Regions from separate parts of the Homo sapiens genome. Here region 2 is linked to region 1. Evidence: promoter capture Hi-C in 16 types of primary human blood cells and fetal thymus (Javierre and others, 2016). All regions are on one chromosome and are shown on one strand. The core of a region is centred on a gene start or on the middle of the fragment in contact, and the rest is flanking DNA. Distances in the headings are between cores, read along the strand shown.

The links. The method cuts DNA at HindIII sites, captures the fragments that hold promoters and counts their contacts. A CHiCAGO score of 5 or more calls a contact.
Region 2: a contact is called between the fragment with the promoter of ALG6 here and the fragment with the promoter of MIER1 in region 1, in 1 of 17 cell types (non-activated CD4 T cells). The highest score is 8.5, in non-activated CD4 T cells.

Annotation. Positions count from the first base shown.
Region 1 is chr1:66,923,470-66,927,624 of GRCh38, forward strand. It overlaps MIER1 (MIER1 transcriptional regulator), which reads left to right and starts at 1,521. Exons shown (of 14, transcript NM_001077700.3): 1 at 1,521-1,626; 2 at 2,673-2,773. The coding sequence starts at 1,560. It overlaps DNAI4 (dynein axonemal intermediate chain 4), which reads right to left and starts at 1,387. Exons shown (of 17, transcript NM_024763.5): 1 at 1,193-1,387. The coding sequence starts at 1,362. RefSeq lists enhancers at 1,090-1,249, 1,540-1,819 and a silencer at 1,390-1,509. The HindIII fragment of the contact is 1,723 bases long and covers 607-2,329 here.
Region 2 is chr1:63,365,496-63,369,381 of GRCh38, forward strand. It overlaps ALG6 (ALG6 alpha-1,3-glucosyltransferase), which reads left to right and starts at 2,132. Exons shown (of 15, transcript NM_013339.4): 1 at 2,132-2,192. RefSeq lists enhancers at 1,592-1,731, 2,592-2,701 and a silencer at 1,932-2,411. The HindIII fragment of the contact is 8,093 bases long and covers 1-3,714 here.

The DNA.
Region 1 (4,155 bases), core at 271-2,770:
GGAAAGGTGAAACCATGAACCAAGACAAGAACTAGGAAGAGTGGTTTCTCAGAACCCAAATAAAGCTTTTCAAAGATCGAGAAGCGATAAACCCGACCGACACTGCTTCATTCAAAAAGAATGAAACTGTGGATCAGCCATTGTATTTGGTTGCATGGCTATTGCTGGCTTTCATAGAAGCTGTTTTGATGGAGTGGTAGGATGGACAAAAGCGTGAGTACCATATTCAAGAGAGAATGCAAGGTTCTCTCCCAAGAACTCTCAACAAGTTCCGCTGAAGAAAGATTAGCTGAGGTGGAGGAGATTGGAGAGGGGAAGAGAAAACAAATTACTTAGGGAATTTTGGGGGAACTTAGTGGGCAGCATTACGGGCAGCGCTAAGGAACCATTTAAAGTAAGACAAGTCCACACAGCTGTGTGCTTTTCTACAGTCTTGTTCAACTGCTGCATAACAACAGAATGTTGGAAGCAGGAATTAGTTTTAAAGTAAGATGGTATTGACGAGACGACAATAAAATACCTCTACTACAGAGCACAGCAATGTTCGGCCTGGTGGCTCACAGAAGCTGAGGCTCTTGAACGTCTGGGCACAGCATGAAAGCATCAAGCTTGAGAGACTGCAGGCCTTAACAAACTAGAAGTGCTAGAACGATGGTTCTAAACCAGGTCTTTTCTCACACAGCAAGCACAGCAATAGAGATTTATTTTATCTTATTTTTTAGACAGAGTCTCGCTCTGTTGCTCAGGCTCGAGTGCAACGGCACGATCTCGGCTTACTGCAACCTCCGCCTTCCGGGTTCAAGGGATTCTCCTGCCTCAGCCTCCCAAGTAGCTGGGATTACAGGCATGTGCCACCACGTCCGGCTAACTTTTTGTATTTTTAGTACAGACGGGGTTTCACCATGTTGGCCAGCCTGGACGCTAACTTCTGACCTCAGGTGATCCACCCCACTCGGCCTCCCAAAGTGCCGGGATTACAGGTGTGAGCCACCGCGCCCAGCCCAGTAGAGATTCTTTTAAAGACTGCGGTAGGTCGATAAAGGAGACATTGTGGCCTAGGAGCTTCAAGGTCTACAGACTGAACCCAGTTAGGGTAGGGCCCCTTTCCAAATCCAGAAATGGTATCTATTAATAGAAGGGCTCCCTCCGGGTCCCAGGGGGATGGACTACGGTTTTTAGCGCCGGAACTTACAACCCGAAGTTCTGCTGCTTGTGACTGCCTGCCGGAGAGACTGGCATGGTGGCGACCAGCTGGGGAGTGGTGCACCACCCCTTTTTTTGGCCGCCTCTGAAGTCCCTGTACCCCCAAGCTCCTCCGTTAGCGGCTCGGGCCGAGGCTCCGGAATGTTTGCCGGGCGTCATGGCGACGGTGGAGCCCTGGCTCAACAAGCGGCCGCGCGGTTGGCTGGCGGCACGAGGCCGAGGAGGAGGGCGGAGGCGGAGGGGAGGGCAGAGGGTTGGTGGAGCTGGAGGAAGCTCCGGACGACGACTGGAAGAAGGAGGCGGGCGGCCCGGGCCTCAGGCCCCTCCCAGGCTCTGAGTCTCCCGGCTGCAGGCGGATGGATGGGGCTTCTTCAGGCGGTGGCGGCAGCAGCGAAGGTGGCGGCGGCAGCAGCGGCAGCGGCTGTAAGTGCAGCCTCCACAAGCCATCTCTCCCCTTCTATTCCAGTTTGGGATGAGGGGCTCCTGAGGTGTCCTCAGTCCCCTTTCTCTCCTTCCCCTCCCCCACGGCAGTGTACCGCCCGGAAGACCCTTAACTTCCGGGGAGGGGCTGCCGCAGAACGCGCCTGGCTTGCTCTCCGCCGGCTGCCAAAGGCGCATGCGCAGCTTCCTCCCTCTGGCCATCGACTGCCTCCCAGCGCCGCCTTTTTGCCTTCGCGGTGGTGGCGCCGCGCTGGGAATCCGCTGCGGAGTGAGTTCGCCTCGCCCCGTTCGCTTCGGTCCCTGATCCCAGTCGGGGTGGGGCTAAGCTGACCACCCTGCTGTGGCTCCGCCTCTTTCTCCTGTATTTCCCTCACTTGTGTCCCATCCCCGGGAGGCTCTCGCTTGCACTGCAGCCTTTATGGTGAGCAGCGCCCTGGGCCAACTTGCCCTTTTCGGATGGAGTCAGGGAGGGAGGAGAGACTCGAATAGGGTATTACTGTAAGGAAACGAGGTCCTCCTAGCGCGTGGGAGGATCCCTTGGGACAGATGCCCGCCGCTCTTTACTCTTGTTCTTTCAGCTTGTAGTGGCTAGGTCCCTGGCCTGGAGCCTATCTGTGGTCCCTGCATGCTGTGTAACCTTGAGCGAGTCACTATCCCTCTCTGGGCTTCAGTTTTCCCTATTTAAAGCTTCCTCCAACGCTAGAATTCTGCATTTCTGCAGAAGAACTTATGTAATTACAAGATTGACTTGGCTATTGAGGCCGCTTCACCAAGATGACCCGGAGTTGACTGAACCTTCTTCACTTATGGGTGGAATGAGGCGACCTATTTATTGGGTCGCTTTTATTCCTTTATCATTAGTTACAAATTGCATGACTTAAGGCTCATTAAATGTTTTTCTAAAATTGTCATGGGATCCTTGTCCTGATTCCCGACCATCTTTTTAAAAATGCGAAACAGGGTGGATGGTGAGCTTGTATCATCGTTTCTGTCTCCTTGCTACTGAGGCTCTCTTTCCTTTGATCCAGATGGTGTGGTCGCTCGATTCTCCCAGTGCCTGGCTGAGTTTCGGACGTGGTTAAGAACCAACTGGTTGAGGTTCAATGCAGACAAGACGGATGTGATGCTGGTAGGCAGGGGTACACTTGGAGATTAAGGGAGGGAAAATCCAAACTCCCTCAAGTAATATAAGATTATATTACTCTTCTTATATGTTCCAGTGTTTGAGAACTGATGGGCCAAAAATTTCCAGAATTTGGGTGAGATAAAAATAACATGTCATCAATGTAAAAACCATAATCATAGTTTGTAATATTCTGATAAAATGGGGCCACTGGATAAAACTGTAAAAATTATGAAAAGAAAATCCAAAACTGTTATTTGAAGAACCAAAAGCCTATATAAGTGTTTTAGAGTGGCATTAATAACAAAAAATGAAACTAACGAAAGATGATGCTGATTGTCACTATAGATGTGGGGCTTCCAAATGTAATAGGCTAAGTTTTTTAGATGTAGGTATTTTCAACCAAATTAGTAATTATCCATAAAATTTTACCACCACATCATAAAGACATGGTGTAGGCTGTTGCTTTTAAATAAAAATTTCAGGAAATAGTTTATAAACTAATCTCAAAAGAGACTCATGGACGCTGAAAATTGTTAGATATAGAATTTTTTAGTTTTGGATGTGTTGTATTAATCTATTTCAGTCAGCTAACCCCAGAGTCTAAATTGTTATAAGTACAGTATTTTCTTGGTGCATTTTGAGAGGTACCTTTTTGGATTGCATAACAGATAGGTTTATATAGTATATATATATATGTTACTTGTATTTGAATCAGGTGTTGGTACTGAATAAAAGGTTATATTTCTTAGGTATATGTAAATTGCCAAAGAAGTTTGTTCATTGGTTCGTTTAAGGTACTGGTTGAAGTAAGATTGTGCTCCTAAATGCTTTTGTTAAAAGCATAATAATAACTGAGGGGTTTGTGTGTGCGTGCGCCTTATAGCCTCTATAGAATTGTTCAATAACTTTTGAATGGAAGATTCAGTAAATTGCTTACAAATGATTTATCAATATAATAGCAGTTTTGAGTAGCTTAATGTCATAAAAATTAATGTTACTTTGCCTGAAAATAAGGAGGCTTTTAGGTGGGGAATAGGAGCTGAAGAGGCATTTATTCAGGCTTTGTATAGTGGTTTTTTGTTTTGGGACATTAATCACAAACCTCACATAAAATTGGAATTCAGCACACTTTTTTAGTTTAAAAATTTTATACACAATTCCAACAGAACTACTGTTTTGGATATCACATTAATAAATAACAAAGTGTAATAATTTTAAGCAGACACAATTAATGGTGCATTTTCTTATGCCTTTAGCTCTCTCATGTCCTATTTTCAACTCTTCTAGTATGAATAGGCTTTAAAAATAAATTTTTTTTTGTTAACCCAAGTATAAATATTAACTGTTTGCATTTGGATACAAAGAAGATATCTGTTGAATTAATC
Region 2 (3,886 bases), core at 882-3,381, 3.6 Mb before region 1:
TTCACCCCAATTTCTTTCCTGGGCTCTGATTCATAACTGACACCTGAGTATTACAACTTTCTTGTCTTTATGTTACCGTGAACTCAATACAATGAACCATCTTTCCCTCCAAGCCAGATTATTCTCCAGGCTTCCCAAGATCTATCAGTTCTTGGGAACTGTAATGCACACTTGAAACCTTGGGAGCCATCCTTGATTCTTCCCTCTCCTTTGTTTCACTTGTACATATCTAGTATGCTATTAAGACCTGTACACGAGGCCAGGTGCAGCAGCTCACGCCTGTAATCCCAGCACTTTGGGAGGCCGAGGCAGGCAGATCACCTGAGGTCAGGAGTTCGAGACTAGCCTGACCAACACAGAGAAACCCTATGTCTACTAAACATACAAAATTAGCCAGGTGTGGTGGTGCATGCCTGTAATCCCAGCTACTCGGGAGGCTGAGGCAGGAGAATTGCTTGAACCCGGGAGGTGGAGGTTGTGGTGAGCCGAGATCGTGCCATTGCTCCCCAGCCTGGGCAACAAGAGAACAAGAGCGAAACTGCGTCTCAGAAAAAAAAAAAAAAGACCTGTACATGTTTCTTCTTGCATTGATCTCTCCCTTTGCAGTTCCACTATTGCCATCTCAGTCCAAGCCCTTGTCTAATCATGCGTGGACTGCTATAGTCTCCCTCTGATTCATCTGATCCATTTTCACCACTTTAAGTTTTCTCTAACACTGTAACTGTACTGTATACTTGACTCCCTGCTAAAAGTCATTTAATAGCCCCTTACTGATCACTGGATACATTCCAGACACCATAGCCTGGTATTCAAGGCTCTCTACAATTACCAGTCCTTTCCAGCTTCATCACCCACCACCTAAACTAGAGGAAATGTTCTACACTTTTCAGCTGCCACAATATTTGGCTTGAACCATTTCCTTTGTCTAGATTCTTACTCTCATTCTCTGGGCTTATCCAGCCAGGCTTTCCTTCAAAGCTCAGCTGACTCCTCCAGGAAAAGCATTTCCTGATGGTTTGCAGTTTACAGTGAACCCTCTTCTCCTAACTCCTACAGTGCTTAGTGCATATGTAAGTAATGTAACATTTAGTATGTGTTTCCTTCTATAGCTTTTTATCCTTTTATGCATAAAAATGTCTTTCCAATGAGAATTAAATGCCTTGAGGGCAGGGACCTGCCATATTTCTCCATATTCCCAGTGCTGATGGTCTTTTAGATATAATCATATTTTAGACCTGGAAGTTCACCTAGCCCTACTGATTTCTTTCACAGTTGAAGAAACTGAGGCCCAGAGAGAAGTTATTCAGACTCAGTAGAAAGCCATAGTCCTAGCCAAATATTTGCTAACACTTACAAATTATAGGGGTTGGCTTACGTAGAATGGCAAGATTCAGAAGTGGGGAATGAGGGCACTCTCTGAACAAAGGAAGGCAAGTAAAAATCATCACAGCCGTCCATGCGTGATTGGACAGAAGCCTAGACTGAGATGGAAATAGTGGAACTGGAAAGGAAGGGATCAATGCAAAAGGAAAAGTGTGCAGGTCTTACTAACTTACTAGATAGGTATTTTTGGCAAGTTTGGGACCAGGTGATTCAAGCTGCCCGCTGGGGCACGTGTAGTGGCTACTCGAGGGCAGGGCTGTCCTTTTGCACAACGCACAGGCTCTCGCAAATGGTTGGATGTTCAATGTTTCTTACTTTAGGGGGCTGCCCAGTCTTCTTCTTCGCAGGCATGTGGCTAGAAGAAAGTGAAGCAGGTTGGCTTTCTGGCTCCTCGAGGGCACAGGCCCAGAGGTGGTGAGGACCGGCCAAGGCTCTCTGCTCAGTGCAGCAAGCCAGGGCCCGCCCCTGACAGGAATCCGTTGGCTAAGCAGCCGCTCCGGCCTTGGCCACGATCCCAGGAAAGAAGAGCAAGGGGCTTTCCACCTGCCCCTAGCCTAACCCGGGGCTGGGGACCTCTCGGGTTCCATCGGCTCTTGCCCCGCCTCCTAAGCCGGCCGCCTCCTGTCCAGGCCAGGTTGCCCGCCCCTCCCCTCACGCTCGACGGGCTCGCTCCCGCACCGGGCGCGCGGGTGGTGCGCGGGCACACGGAGGCGGAAGGCCGGAGGGGCAGTCCGCCGCGGGGGCGAGCGCGCATGCGCCTTCCTGGGACCCACGGCAGGCGCGAATCCCAGCGGCCGGCGGGCGGCGGGGTAAGAGCATGGGATCCCGGAGGTTCCGGACCCCAGGCCAGTGTGGGGAGGTGCCGGGGGCTCGGACGCGCCACGAGCCGGCGCAGAGCTGGCGACCCGTCTCCCAGCTCCGCTCCACTCCCAGGGACGCGACGCGAGGCCTCCCCAGCCCTTCCTGCAGGGTCGCTTGTGGGTCGGGTGAGGGGACGCGGTGATAGTGGTGGCACTTGCAGGCTGGGGCGGTCCTGGCACCCTTGTCCTTGCGGTTCTGAGGGCCTGGCCCTCAAGAGGAGGGGCGGAGAAACGCGAGAAGGGATCCCTTTCGCCCCATATACACGCCCGGGATAGCTGCACTCCCCGGTGTTGTGTCCACTGCGGTGGAAGGACCTTTCAGACTAAAAGGAGCAAAGTCGGTTCTGGGATGGGGACGGCGGGCTTGGCATTTGTCGAGATGCACCGTCAGGGCAAAGGAGGACGAAAAGCGCATCTACTGCCTGCCTAGCAACTTCGTGGCCAGTGGATGGGTTAGAAAATTACTGTTTTCTGATTTACAGGTGGAAAAAGTCGCAAATAACCCTTTTTCTGGTTTAAGCAGAAGAGAGTCGTTAAAAGCCTCGCATAATATCTTTAACCACACAGGGCTCAGTAAAATTAGGGTACCTCCCCGCTTCGTACACACAGACGCACACAGCTCCATTCAGCAAATACTTCTTGGGTACCTGCCTTCTGCTAACACTGTTCTACAAGTGGGGAACAGAGAGCAACGACTAAGACAGGAGGATCCCTGCTCACAGGGAGCCTTTAGTCAACACATCCAAGTAATTTCCTTTTACACTTTTTTTTTTTTTAATTGAGACAGAGTCTTGCTCTGTCGCCCAGGCTGGAGTGCAGTGGCACGATCTTGGCTCACTGCAACCTCTGCCTCCCGGGTTCGAGCGATTTTCCTGCCTCAGCCTCACGAGTAGCTGGGATTACAGGAACGCACCACCACGCCCAGCTAATTTTTGTATTTTTAGTAGAGATGGGGTTTCACCATGTTGACCAGGCTGGTCTCGAACTCCTGACCTCAGGTGATCCACCTGCCTCGGCCTCCCAAAGTGCTGGGATTACAGGGGTGAACCACTGCGCCCAGCCCCTTTTATGCTTTTTAAATTGGAATATACCATATAGAAAAATACTGTACGCAAATTATAAGTTGTAACTTGTTAATTTATCCTAAAGTCAACACATTTCCTAACCACTACTCAAATCAAGAAGGAAGATTCACAGCATTTCAGAACACCTCTCTGGGCACCCCTCCCAACCACCATCCCTTCTTTCCTCCCCAAAGGTAACCTCTTTCCTGATTTTTAACACCATAGATTAGTTTTGCCTATTTATGAACCTTTCATGGAACCATATGATATGTATTCTTTGGTGTCCAGCATTTATACTGAAAATTATGTGTGTGAGATTGCACCATGTCATGTGAAAATACAAATCCTGTTAGTGAAAAGAATTAGGAAGCAAATTGAAGGTAATGATACAAACAGTAAGGGGAGGAAGCTTTAGTAGGATAGTCAGGGATGATCTTTCTGAGGGGATGATTTGAGATTTGGCATCAATGACAAAAGATTAGCCATTCCAATCAGTTCTGGAGTTATCCCGTGATGTTTTTATTTTAAATAAGAAAATAATTAGGGCCGGGTGCAGTGGCTCACGCCTGTAATCCCAGC